Linked DNA regions of Homo sapiens: region 2 is linked to region 1. Evidence: promoter capture Hi-C in 16 types of primary human blood cells and fetal thymus (Javierre and others, 2016). All regions are on one chromosome and are shown on one strand. Each heading gives the region's core, a stretch centred on a gene start or on the middle of the fragment in contact. The rest is flanking DNA. Distances are from core to core; before and after follow the strand shown.

Region 1 (5,924 bases), core at 1,495-3,994:
GATGGAAAAGGAATCCTGGCCTGAGACCGAGCTTACCTGGGTTCTGATCTGGCTCTGTTGCTAGATGTGCCACTAGCTTCTGGATCTTCCTGTGTCCATCTGCAAAAGGCAGGTAGGTAGACTGTATGGGCCCTCCCAGCTCTGATATCCAATGCGGGTTTAAATAGCCTTTCCAGAGCATTGCTAATGGCCAGGTGTTGGATTTTTGCCTTCATTATCTGTTTTCTCCTTAATTATCTTACAGCTCCTTGGACCCAAGAGTCTTCCATTGTGGAATCAATTCGCAAGGGGTAAATAATGTCTGCTGTTGCCTGGAAAGGCCTTGGTTGCCTCTGGTAGGAAGGGGGAGATGGGTCAGGAAAAGGAGGGAATCAACCAGGGAAAAGGAGTTGACCAAATGATGTGCCTGTCCCACAAAACACTTCAGCTTGCTTTCCCGGAGTCCCACTGCCTGGCCAAATGTGGAATAGATAAACACACAGATACAACAAACCACTTGAGAACAGAATGACCCTTGCTTCTCCCCTTCTCCTTCCTTGTTAAGCCTAGGTTCTAGGATTGTTCCCTTTATACAAGCTCCTTTCTCTCCGGGAAGGGCGGGGGTAGTTTATAAACTTAGGCACTAGGGCCACCTGTAGCTGGTGATCTGTGCATTATTTTCTTGAGCTTTCTCCCTTTCTCCTTCTTCTTCTTCTAAGAGCCTTGGACCAGGCATCAGAAGCCCCCTTACCCTCTAATTCTTGCTTGGCGTTTAGCAAAATACTTTCCTTCTGGAGACTCAAATTTTCCTTCTCCATAGAGAAGGGCAAACTTGAGATGAGCTCTGAGGCAGAGGGACAGCCCTGTGGATGGCCTCCCACCCTGTATTGCAATTGCATCATTAGATGGAAGCAGTCTGATGCAGTGGGAGCACAATTAAGCTCCCTTTCCTAGCAAAGGAGGCATTTGTTTCTATGTATTTCCAAAGGTTAAAAGCACATAGTTCCTAGAGCAATAAGATTTATTCATTCAGTCATTCATTCAACAAACATGTATTATGTCAATATTTAACTGAAGTAAAGACGTGAGAGCCGAACAAGACCTTAGAAGTCAGGTTCATTTTACAGATGAGGTCATTTCTTAACCAGGGAAAGTGCTGACTTACTCAAGAAACTACAAATAGAAACAAAACCCAGGGATTATGAGTCCCAGTCCATCATCTTTCCAAAAAGCACACTACTGCTTAATATGAATTAAAAATCTACTTAAACGTAAATAGCAGTGGTAGTGTTTTACTTAAAGGTATCCTTTTTATTAAAAAAAAATGTATTTGAAAGTGAAACATCAAATACTAGTTTCGGTTCTCAGATACAGTAATTTCCTTCAAGACATTGATGACGCTTTCAATATTCCTTGAGGACAGATTATTTTTGCGAAGAATTTCAGAGACAGGAGAGAGATTCAGAGAGAAAGGTGGAGGTGGTTGGGGGCTCATGAGATTCTTGAGACCTACAGAATCAAGGAAATTCATGGGTAATCTAACTGTGGGAAGCGACACTCGGACCCTAAGGAGGTCTTCGTTCCTGCCTGTCCTTGAGAGTCCACAGCTGCTTTCCAAAACGTAGTTACTAGGAACAAATCAGCCTGAAACGCGATAACCACTTTAAGTAAGTTTCATTTGGCCCCGTGTCTTCTGAAGAACTGCCGCAGCACTCCGCTAGGGAGAGCGGGCTTTTAAGGCTGTGGAAAGGTTCAGGGTGAACTGGGACCCCAAGGGAGGGAAAGGCGGTCATTAAAATAAGGAAAACGCTCCCTCTCCTTGCTGAGGCAAGGGAGGCTTAAAGACGAACTCCGTCGCCTGTCTCACTCGCATCTAACCGAGTAGAGCCTGGCTCAGGTCTCCAAGCCTTCCACAGGACACGGTGGGTGCCGGCGGGCTTACAGCCCACCTCCGTCCCGGCCGCCCATCAGGCCACGAGGGGGCTAAGAGGAGTCCGGGGAACCAGAGAGGGGGCACTGCTTGCCCGCAGCCTCTTCTTCTAAACACCCGCCGCCCGCAAGCCGGGTCGAATCCCATTTCCGAAGGGCGCTTCCGGGAGACCAGGTGTCTCCGAGCGTCCCCGATCGCCGGTAACTGGGCACCGGCCGCCAGCGCAGCCCTACCTTCCCTGCCCCTACCTGCTAGACGCCTGGTGCGGTGCCCGGCATGCGGACCTACAGCCGCGACGGCCACTCGGGCTGCCCTCGCCATGGGACTTGGGCACTGCAGGCCGACCGGAGGCTTCTAGCTCGCGCCGGGTGCGTGGGCCCTCCCTGGCCGCCTGTGCCACCCCGCTGCGCGAGGCGCGGAGCCCGACCACGCCCGCGCGGACGGTCCCGGGGTGAGGAATCTCCAGTGGGGATTGAGGGTAGAGGGCGGCCGCCAGCGAGCTGCCCTCCGCGGATGGCGCCCAGCCTCCCCACGCTGGTGCCCCTCGCAAGGAGAGGTGGCCGGGAAAGGCAACGGACTGAGGAAAGCCGGCTCACTGGCCGCGTCGCCACCGCGTCCCTGAGTGCTCAGAACTTACCGAGCGAGCGCGCCGCCCAGATCTTTTCCCGGAGGCGCCCGCAGCATCTGCGACTCGGGGAGGCAAAGGAGCCGGCACCGCCTCGGACTGGCGCAGCCCAGGAGCGAGAGCACCGCGGGGAGCGCGGGCGGCGCCCCCAGGGCAGGCAGATCCCCACCGAGCAGCTAGCCAACGGGCAACGCTTCTTGCAGGAAGGAGGGAGGGAGGCGAGAGGGAGGAGGGAAGTAAAGCGGGAGGGAGGAGAGGGGAAGAAGGGAGGGAGGAGGGAGGAGGGAGGGAGGAGGGAGGAGGGAGTGAGGAGGGAGGAGGGAGGGAGGAGGGAGGGAGGGATCGCGTCCCCCCTCTCCCTCACTTATCAATCACCCCACAGATCAAATATCCGGGCTGTGCACCCAGGACGGGGATGTAAGAGCCCACAAAGGAGCCGCTGCTCCATTTCTCTGACAAGCGCTGCGGAGCACTGCTCACGCCTCTCGGTCCCTCTTGCCTGGAACTCTGCCCAGCCCTTGCGGCTTCCACCCTGGGCTGCAGCTCGGGCTCGGTCAAGTGAAATAAGAATGGCACACGGTCGGTACCATGTCCAAGGGGAGACTAAGACTACTGGGTGGAAGTTAACGACAAGTGAAAGAGCAGTCAGCCATCCGAGCTGGACACCCTCCGGGACAGCTGCCTCCCCTAACTAGTAAGCGCCCAGTCTTTGGGAGTTCGCAGGCAGATATTTAAGAACCTCCTACGAGGATCGTAAACAAGGACTTTCAACATAAGATAGAGCTGAACTTGAGTTGTGCAAGTGTGTTAACAAAGCAAGCCCTTAGCAGCGTTCCAGTGCCCATTTTGATTCCCTTTATTCTTCACGACGACGTTGCCTGGATCTTCTAGAGCGTGATTTTTGCCATCCTCCCTTCCCTTTTCTCCTTTCTTCTTCCTCTTATTAGTAGTCCAGGTGGTTGTGATTCTATTAAAGGAAGGCGCTCTGTGAAAAGAGTCAGTGTAGTTCAAGAGGGAGGTGCGGTTTTTGCCAAGAGCATTGCGTTTCCCCTCAAGACTTGCTTTCTCTAGGGCCTCTCCTCTACTCTTCCAGAGTATTCGAGATAAAGTTGCAGTTTGATAAATTTATGCCAGGAGTAGGGAGTTCATTTGATGACACTAAGTCATTTTCCCCTCCATCCTGTAGGAGAACGTCATTAATTCAAGTCGTTGCCACCCCCTATCCTTTTCATGCCCGCTAGAGTCTGCAAAACCCCAAATCCTTCTTACTGTCGAAAAGCGTGATGGTGGAGAGCAGACGGGGAGGCGAGGAGAGAGGTGCAAAATTAGACGCAAAATTACCTCTCCAGCTAGTGGATCTGCATTGGAATTTGTCTGTTTCCATATTTCCCATGCCTTTCAACTCGTTCTCACAGCACTGACAACCACCTTTTTCTTGTCCTTCCCGTGGGAATCTTTTGTGCTTCTCCTGTCCTCTCTTCTTGGCTTTCTTTCATAATGGTTTTCTAAGGAGATTATGCTGGGCTTTTTAAAAAGAAAACTACTGGCAATCTTATATTATGAAGATGTACAGAGTTTGCTTTAATAATAGTCGGAAGAATTATAATCGTATCTTCGGAGTTGTAAGGGTCATTACTGTTCCTTTTATTTCATTCTTGAGAAAGCCTTTTTGAAATCTTCCTACCATTCAGATAAGCAACTTCGGAATAACATAGTTCTCACATAAGCACGTGGGCAGTGTATGTACGGTTATATATCCAGAAGCATTGCTCTTCTTTTTACAATATCTGTATTAGTGTAAACATCCAATGTGCTGTTTGCTACAGACTAAAAGCAGTGCACTGAGCACATCATATTATTAACTAAATGAGGTCAGTTAATACTGTTACTTCTGTCTTTACCGTATTTCTGACTGTGTCATCTTTTCATGTCGCTTTTAGTAGATGTTATAAACAACTGCAAAACACAGAGCTAAGAGGCCATTCCAATACAGAAATAATGAGACAGTCATGCTGAAAAACTCAGACAGTTTACTAAGAAGGGTGATGTGTCTGTAGCCAAAGGGAACATACAAAATAAGCAAAAACTTCTATACAGAGTAGAGAAGGAACATGGCATTAATGATGAAAAGTGATACTTTATTTAGATCCAGTAGTAACATGTAATAGATGGCATGCATCAATTTTAATTAGCCTTGTAAGCAAGTCTAACCTGTTCACCAGCCTTCGAAAAGCATTTAGCAGCCTGCCTTTCCACATGGGACCACACTGATAGTAAGACAAAATTAAAAAGAGCAGACTTTTCTTTTTGTCAGCATAAAATTTTCAAGTAGGTGGATAGCTGTGCTTTGAATGCACAGACACGAAAATTGATGAGCAATATAAAACTTTCTGAGAGGGTTTTGCATAGACAGTTATAATGGAGGAGAGTTTGAAGTCTGTGAAAAATTTAAATATGCCAATTTATTTGAAAGCTGCTTTATGCTGAATTTTCTAAAAGCTTCTGTGTTAGAGGAAAATTTCCAAATAGAATTGAATACTAGAGACACCATATTAATGTACTTCTGTTCATTAATAAAAATCACATTATTCTTCTTTATACTAGCACTGTAAATGTATCTTTATATCCATGTGCTGTTTTCTTTTTGAAAAACTTTTATTTTAGGTTCAGGTGTACGTGTGCAAGTTTGTTATATAGGTAAATTGCATGTGGTGGGGGTTTGGTTTACTGTAAGCTACTTTCTATTGTGAAGTTCGTGTTACTAAACAACATAGAGATCCCGATTGGAAAACTAGTGGAAAAACAGAGAAATAAAACTAAATCTTGCCTGGGTTTTTATAATTTCATTCTAAGGTTAGAAGAAAACCAGAAATTTCACCTGCGATGAGTGAGATAAAAAGCGCATATGTTTCCAGGATGATGTAAAGGATGTCCTATTACTGTGTAGTACGTAATTTACCTGAGAATGTTGCTTTTTCAACTTCTTCACACCTATCCAGAACTAGAAAGCTTTAAAACATATAAAAGAAGACAAAATGTGCTGCATTTTCAGTGAACATAGTTTCTTTCCAACCAAAGGTTTCAAAGAAGAGTGCCACAGAACAAATTCCTAAATAAAGAAACGCAACAAAGCGGACATGCCCTTAATATTAGTAATTATAGTTTACAGGATATTGTAGACTTTTGTTCCTGATGTTATTGAAAAGGTGGATATTTTTCAATTCAATTCAATTATTTGGATTATTTGGCAGGCATTTTGGCCTGATTGAAATAGTGCTGGGCCAAGACCCAGGGCAGTTTTTCTTTTAATCAAATACATATCCAAGCCCTTGGAGCCCAATGACCTGGGTTCAAATTCCACCCGTGCTACTTTCTCACAATGGGACAAAA
Region 2 (6,562 bases), core at 539-3,038, 2.0 Mb before region 1:
CATCACAATCAGGGAGTGAAATGACACCCTTCTAAATAACTCTTGGATTTAAAAAAAAAGAAATAAAAACTCAAATTATAACTTATTTAAAAATGAAAAACAGTTATTGTAGTATATATTCAAACCCATGAAATGCTTCAAAGATGTACTCAGAGGACAAGGTACAGCTTTAAACATATGTATTACAAAACAGTAAATATTGGGAAAAAATTAAGTGCTTAATTCAACAAACTAGAAAATTAATAGAAAAAATATGCCCAAAGAAATCAGAAAGAGCTGATACAGATAATGCTATAGAAAACAGTAAGACAAGCCAACAATACATTAAATAAATCAACAAAACTGAAATTTGGTTTTGGAAAGAACAAGAAAAAAAAACTTGACAAGTGTGATTATGAAAAAAAGAGCAAACACCCAAGTAAAGTTAAGAATGAGAAAGCAGAATTAAATATATGGAGCATATTTTAAAATTTGTAAGAAGAATTCTATATGTACAATTTTATACCCTACATTTAAACTCATGATTACAGAAAATACCTGAAGAAATAGTAGAAAGTTTGAATAGGAAAATAACAATATAAGAATAGGAAAAGATATTCAAAAATTTTACCCTTACCATGTATCTGACTCAGATGATTTTACAGTAGAGTTCCATCAAATCTACAATAGACATATCATTGTAATGCTATGCAAATTGTGCTAGTCATATAACAAAAATGAAAAGCTTTCTAATTCACTCTATGCAACCACTGCCTGTACTCCCCAAACAATCACACTTCCTGTTTCTTCTTTTCTCTCTCCTCACTACGCATTGGTTAGAACAATATTCAGTGTTTCCATTATTGTGATGCTGGGCACATTAATGTGTATGATTTTTTTGTTTTTGTTTTTGAAGTTGTCATCTTCCTGAATCATCACTCTCTTTTTCAGGTTATTCACCTCTGTTTGCTTGTTTTGATTTCTCTCATGTCAGAGTTTCTCCAGATGTCTGTGATCTTTAGGTGTCCATTCATAGTTATGAGGGAGATACTAAAAAGATTACTAGCAACGTTGAGCATGTGGGTAGGGTTTTTGGGCTGTAGGGTTCACTGCCAATGGTATAGTTGCACTGTTTCATTGGGGAACCCCTGATTGTCAGTACCTTTAGACTCAGTGTTTTTAGATTTTTCTTCTTGTGCTAGTAATATCCTGCAGAGAGACATCCTCCCATCTCCTGCCTGGAATGTACAATCTAGTGTTTTGGGATCCCAGTTGATGAAGAAGGTTTAAGGTGTCAATAGTCAGTGCTCAGAGAATTTTACTTAATCCCAGTTTTCGATATGGTATCTCCACCTTCATCTATGCTTCATATTCTCTAGTCCAGACATATGTTTTATCTTCTACACAGGCTATACCTTTGGTCCTCTGATGAGTTTGGGGAACAGTAGTCAACCACACAGCCAGGGATCAAAGGAGTATACATCTGAGACTCCAGATGTTCAGACTTTCAAGCACTGCTGTTTTCAACCTCTTCTTCCCCCCTCTTTCCAGAGGTACTTGGTACAGTCAGTTCCTGGGATTTAAGGAGACTCTTCAGTACAAGTCATGTTGTTTCTTGGTTTCCTCTACTATCTGCTTAAGGTTCAGGTTACTTTTTAAATTTTAAGTTCTGGGGTACTGGTGCAGGATGTGCAGGTTTGTTACAAAGGTAAACGTGTGCCATGGTGGTTTGCTCCACCTATCAATCCATCACCTAGGTATTAAGCCCTGCACGCATTAGGTATTTTTCCTAATGGTCTCCCTCCCCTACCCACCCACCAACAGGTCCCATTGTGTGTTGTTCCCCTCCCTGTGTCCATGTGTTCACGTTGTTCAGCTCCCACTTATAAGTGAGAACACGTGGTGTTTGGTTTTCTGTTCCTGCGTTAGTTTGCTGAGGATAATGGCTTCCAACTTGACCCATGTCCCTGCAAAGGACATCATCTCATTCCTTTTTTATGGCTGCATAACCACATTTTCTTTATCCAGTCTACCATTTATGGACATTTAGGTTGATTCCATGTCTTTGCTATTGTGAACAGTGCTGCAATGAACACGTTTGCATGTATCTTTATAATAGAATGATTTATATTCCTTAGGGTGTATATCCAGTAATGGGATTGCTGGGTCAAATGGTATTTCTGCCTCTAGGTCTTTGAGGAATCATCACACTGTCTTTCACAATAGTTGAACTAATTCACACTCCCACCAACAATGTAAAAGTGTTCCTTTTTCTCCACAACCTTGCCAGCATCTGTGTTTGTTGTTTTTTGACTTTTTTAAAAATAGCCATTATGACTGGTGTGAGATGGTATCTCAGTGTGGTTTTGATTTGCATTTCTCTAATGATCAGTGATGTCGAGCTTTTTTCATATATTGTTTTTTATATATGTTTTTCATATATGTTTCATACATGTATGTTTTTCATATGTTTCATACACGTATGTTTTTCATGTTTCATACACGTATGTTTTTCATATATGTTTCATACACGTATGTTTTTAATATATGTTTCATACGTGTATGTGTTTCATATGTTTCATACACGTGTTTTTCATATATGTTCCACACACGTATGTTTTCATATATGTTTCATACATGTATGTTTTCATATATGCTTCATACACATATGTTTTCATATATGTTTCATGCACGTATGTTTTTCATATATGTTTCATACACGTATGTTTTCATATATGTTTCATATATGAAGTTCATTCATGATTTGGCTCGCTGCTTGCCTGTTGTTGGTGTATAAGAATGCTAGCTGTTTTTGTACATTGATTTTATATCCTGTAACTTGCTGAAGTTGCTTATCAGCTTAAGAAGCTTTTGGGCTGAGACAATGGAGTTTTCTAGATATAGCATCATGTCATCTGCAAAAAAGATAGTTTGACTTCCTCTCTTCCTATTTGAATATGCTTTATTTCTTTCTATTGCCTGATTGCCCTGGCCAGAACTCCCAATACTAGGTTGAATAGGAATGGTGAGAGAGGGCATTCTTGTCTTGTGCTGGTTTTCGAAGGGAATGCTTCCAGCTTTTGCCCATTCAGTGTGCTGTTGGCTGTGGGTTGTCATATATGGCCCTCTTTATTTTGAGGTATGTTCCTTCAATACCTAGTTTATTGAGAGCTTTTAACATGAAAGGATGTTGAAGTTTATCAAAGGCATTTTCTGCATCTATTGATATAATCATGTGGTTTTTGTCTTTAGATCTGTTTATGTGATGAATCACATTTATTGATTTGTGTATGTTGAACCAACCTTGCATCCTGGGGATGAAGCCAACTTGATCATGGTGGATAAACTATTTGATGTGCTGCTGGATTTTGTTTGCCAGTATTTTATTGAGGATTTTTGCATCTATGTTCATCTAGGATATTGGCCTGAAGTGTTCTTTTTTCACTGTGCCTCTGCCAGGTTTTGATATCAGGATGATGCTGGCCTCATAAAACGAGTTAGGGAGGAGTCCCTACAATTTTTAAAATTTGTTTTAGTATAAATGATGCCAGCTCTTCTTTGTACCTCTGGTAAAATTCAGCTGTGAATCCATCTGGTCCTGGGCTTTTTCTGGTTGATAGGCTATTTATTACTGCCTCAATTTCAGAACTCATTATTGGTCTATTCAGGGATTCAATTTCTTCCTGTTTCAGTCTTGGGAGGGTGTATGTGTCCAGGAGTTTATCCATTTATTCTAGATTTTCTAGTTTATGTGCATAGAGGTGTTTATAGTATTCTCTGATGGCTGTTCGTATTTCTGTGGGGTCAGTGGTGATATCCCCCTTATCATTTCTGATTGTGTTTATTTGCATCTTCTCTCTTTTCTTCTTTATTCGTTTAGCTAGTGGTCTGTCTATTTTATTAACCTTTTCAAAAAACCAGCTCCTGGTTTTGTTGTTATTTTGAAGGGTTTTTTGTGTCTCTATCTCCTTCAGTTCAGCTCTGATCCTAGTTAATTCTTGTCTTCTGCTAGCTTTGGGGTTTGTTTGCTCTTGCTTCTCTAGTTCTTTTAGTTGAGATGTTAGGTTGTTAACTTGAGATATTTCTAGCTTTTTGATGTGGGCATTTAGTACTATAAATTTCCCTCTTAACACTGCTTTAGCTGCATCCCAGGGATTCTGGTACATTGTCTCTTTTTTCTCATTAGTCTCAAAGAATTTCTTGATTTCTGCTTAATTTTATTATTTACCCAAGTGTCATTCAGGAGAAGGTTTTTCAATTTCCATGTAATTGTGTTATTTTGAGTCAATTTCTTAATCTTGAGTTCTAATTTGATTGCACTGTGGTCTGAGAGACTGTTAGGATTTCAGTTATTTTGCATTTGATGAGGAGTGTTTTACTTCTGATTATGTGATCAATTTTAGAGTAAGTGCCATGTGGCAATGAGAAGATGTATATTCTGTTGAATTTGGGTGGAGAGTTCTGTAGACACCTATCAGCTCCATTTGATTCAGAGCTGAGCTCAGGTTTTAAATATCTTTGTTAATTTTGTGTCTCAATGATCTAATATTGACATTGAGGTGTTAAAGTCTCCCAATATTATTGTGTGGGAGTCTAAGGCTCTTTGTAGGTCTCTAAGAACTTGCTTTATTAACCTGGGTGCTCCCATATTGGGTGCATATATAAGATAATTAGCTCTTCTTGTTGAATTGAACCTTTTACCATTATGTAATGCCCTTCTTTGTCTTTTTTGAACTTTGTTGGTTTAAAATCTGTTTTGTCAGAAATTAGGATTGCAACCCCTGCTTTTCTCTGTTTTCCATCTGCTTGATAAAATTTCCTCCATCCCTTTATTTTGAGCCTATGTGTGTCTTTGCATGTGAGATGGGTCTCTTGAAGACAGCATACCAATGGGTCATGATGAGAGGTGACAACATGCTAGCAGCCCTCGCTCGCTCTCAGTGCCTCCTCGACCTTGGCGTCTGCTCTGGCCGTGCTTGAGGAGCCCTTCAGCCCACCGCTGCCCTACGAGGGCCCCTCTCTGGGGCTGGCCGAGGCCGGAGCTGGCTCTCTCTGCTCACGGGGAAGTGTGAAGAGAGAGGTGTGGGTGGGAGCCGGGGCTGCACGCAGCGCTCACAGGCCAGCGCAGGTTCCAGGTGAGCATGGGCCTGCTGGGCTTGATCAGAGGCTGAATCCTGTGTGTGGACCACTGTTCCCTCCTCGTGGGACCGTTGGCCACGATAGCAGGTCTCCGTCTCTTTCTCACTTCCCCTCTTTTCCTCTTGATTGTCTGGGATGAGCTCCCTCTGGGCTGCTGGAGCCCTCTGGAGCCCTCTCGGCTGCTGGGCTGCTGTCTGGATGAGCTCCCTCAGGCTAGGTGCCTCAAAGTCCCGTGGTGAATGCCAGTGAGAGGTGAGGCTGGCTGAGCTTCTGGGATGGGTGGGGACTTGGAGAACTTTTCTGTCTAGCTAAAGGATTGTAAACGCACCAATCAGCACTCTATGTCTAGCTAAAGGTTTGTAAACACACCAATCAGTGCTCTGTGTCTAGCTAATTGGCTGGGGACTTGGAGAACTTTTCTGTTTAGCTAAAGATTGTAAACGCACCAATCAGCACTCTGTGTCTAGCTAAAGGTTTGTAAATGCACCAATCAGCACTCTGTCAAAATGGACCAATCAGCTCTCTGTAAAACGGACCAATCAGCTCTCTGTAAAATGGACCAATCAGCTCTCTGTAAAGTGGACCAATCAGCTCTCTGTAAAGTGGACCAATCAGCAGGATGTGAGTGGGGCCGGATAAGGGAATAAAAGTAGGCCACCCGAGCCAGCAGCGGCAACCCGCTGTGGTCCCATTCCATGCTGTGGAAGCTTTGTTCTTTTGCTCTTCACAATAAATCTTGCTGCTGTTCACTCTTTGGGTCCACGCTACCTTTATGTGCTGTAACACTCACCTCTGAAGGTCTGCAGCTTTACTCCTGAAGCCAGCGAGACCACAAACCCACCGGGAGAAATGAACAACTCTGGACGCGCTGCCTTTAAGAGCTGTAACACTCACTGCGAAGGTCTGTGGCTTCACTCCTGAAGTCAGTGAGACAACGAACCCACCAAAAGGGAGAAATTCCGGACACATCTGAACATCAGAAGGAACAAACTCCAGACACACCATCTTTAAGAACTGTAACACTCACCACGAGGGTCCACGGCTTCATTCTTTAAGTCAGCGAGACCAAGAACCCACCAATTCCAGACACAATGACTCTATCAAGCTTGCCGTCTGTGCCTTTTAATTGGGACATTTAGTCCATTTACATTTAAGGTTAGTATTTTTGTGTGTGAATTTGATCCTGTCATCATGATGCTAGCTGGTTATTTTGCAGGCTTGTTTATGTGGTTGCTTCATGGTGTCACTGGTCTGTGTAATTCAGTGTGTTTTTATAATGGCTGGTAGTGGTTTTTCCTTTCCATATTCAGTGCTTCCTTCAGGAGCTCTTGCAAGGCAGGCCTGGTGTTGAAAAATTCACTAAGCATTTGCTTGTCTGAAAAGGATCTTACTTTCTTATTCGCTTATGAAGAAAAATAAGGAATGCTTCCTGAATTTGCATGTC

What was found. Contacts are between HindIII fragments. The CHiCAGO score rates a contact against its expected background, and 5 or more counts as called.
Region 2: a fragment that was not itself captured here is called in contact with the fragment with the promoter of SLITRK2 in region 1 in 1 of 17 cell types (endothelial precursors); the score reaches 5.8 in endothelial precursors.

What each region holds. Positions count from the first base shown.
Region 1 is chrX:145,814,649-145,820,572 of GRCh38, reverse strand. It overlaps SLITRK2 (SLIT and NTRK like family member 2), which reads right to left and starts at 2,744. Exons shown (of 5, transcript NM_032539.5): 1 at 2,547-2,744; 2 at 37-99. The HindIII fragment of the contact is 7,249 bases long and covers 1-5,035 here.
Region 2 is chrX:147,827,352-147,833,913 of GRCh38, reverse strand. It overlaps the pseudogene RNU6-382P. Among named protein-coding and RNA genes, the nearest start is that of FMR1-AS1, 81 kb to the left of the region's middle. The HindIII fragment of the contact is 2,123 bases long and covers 727-2,849 here.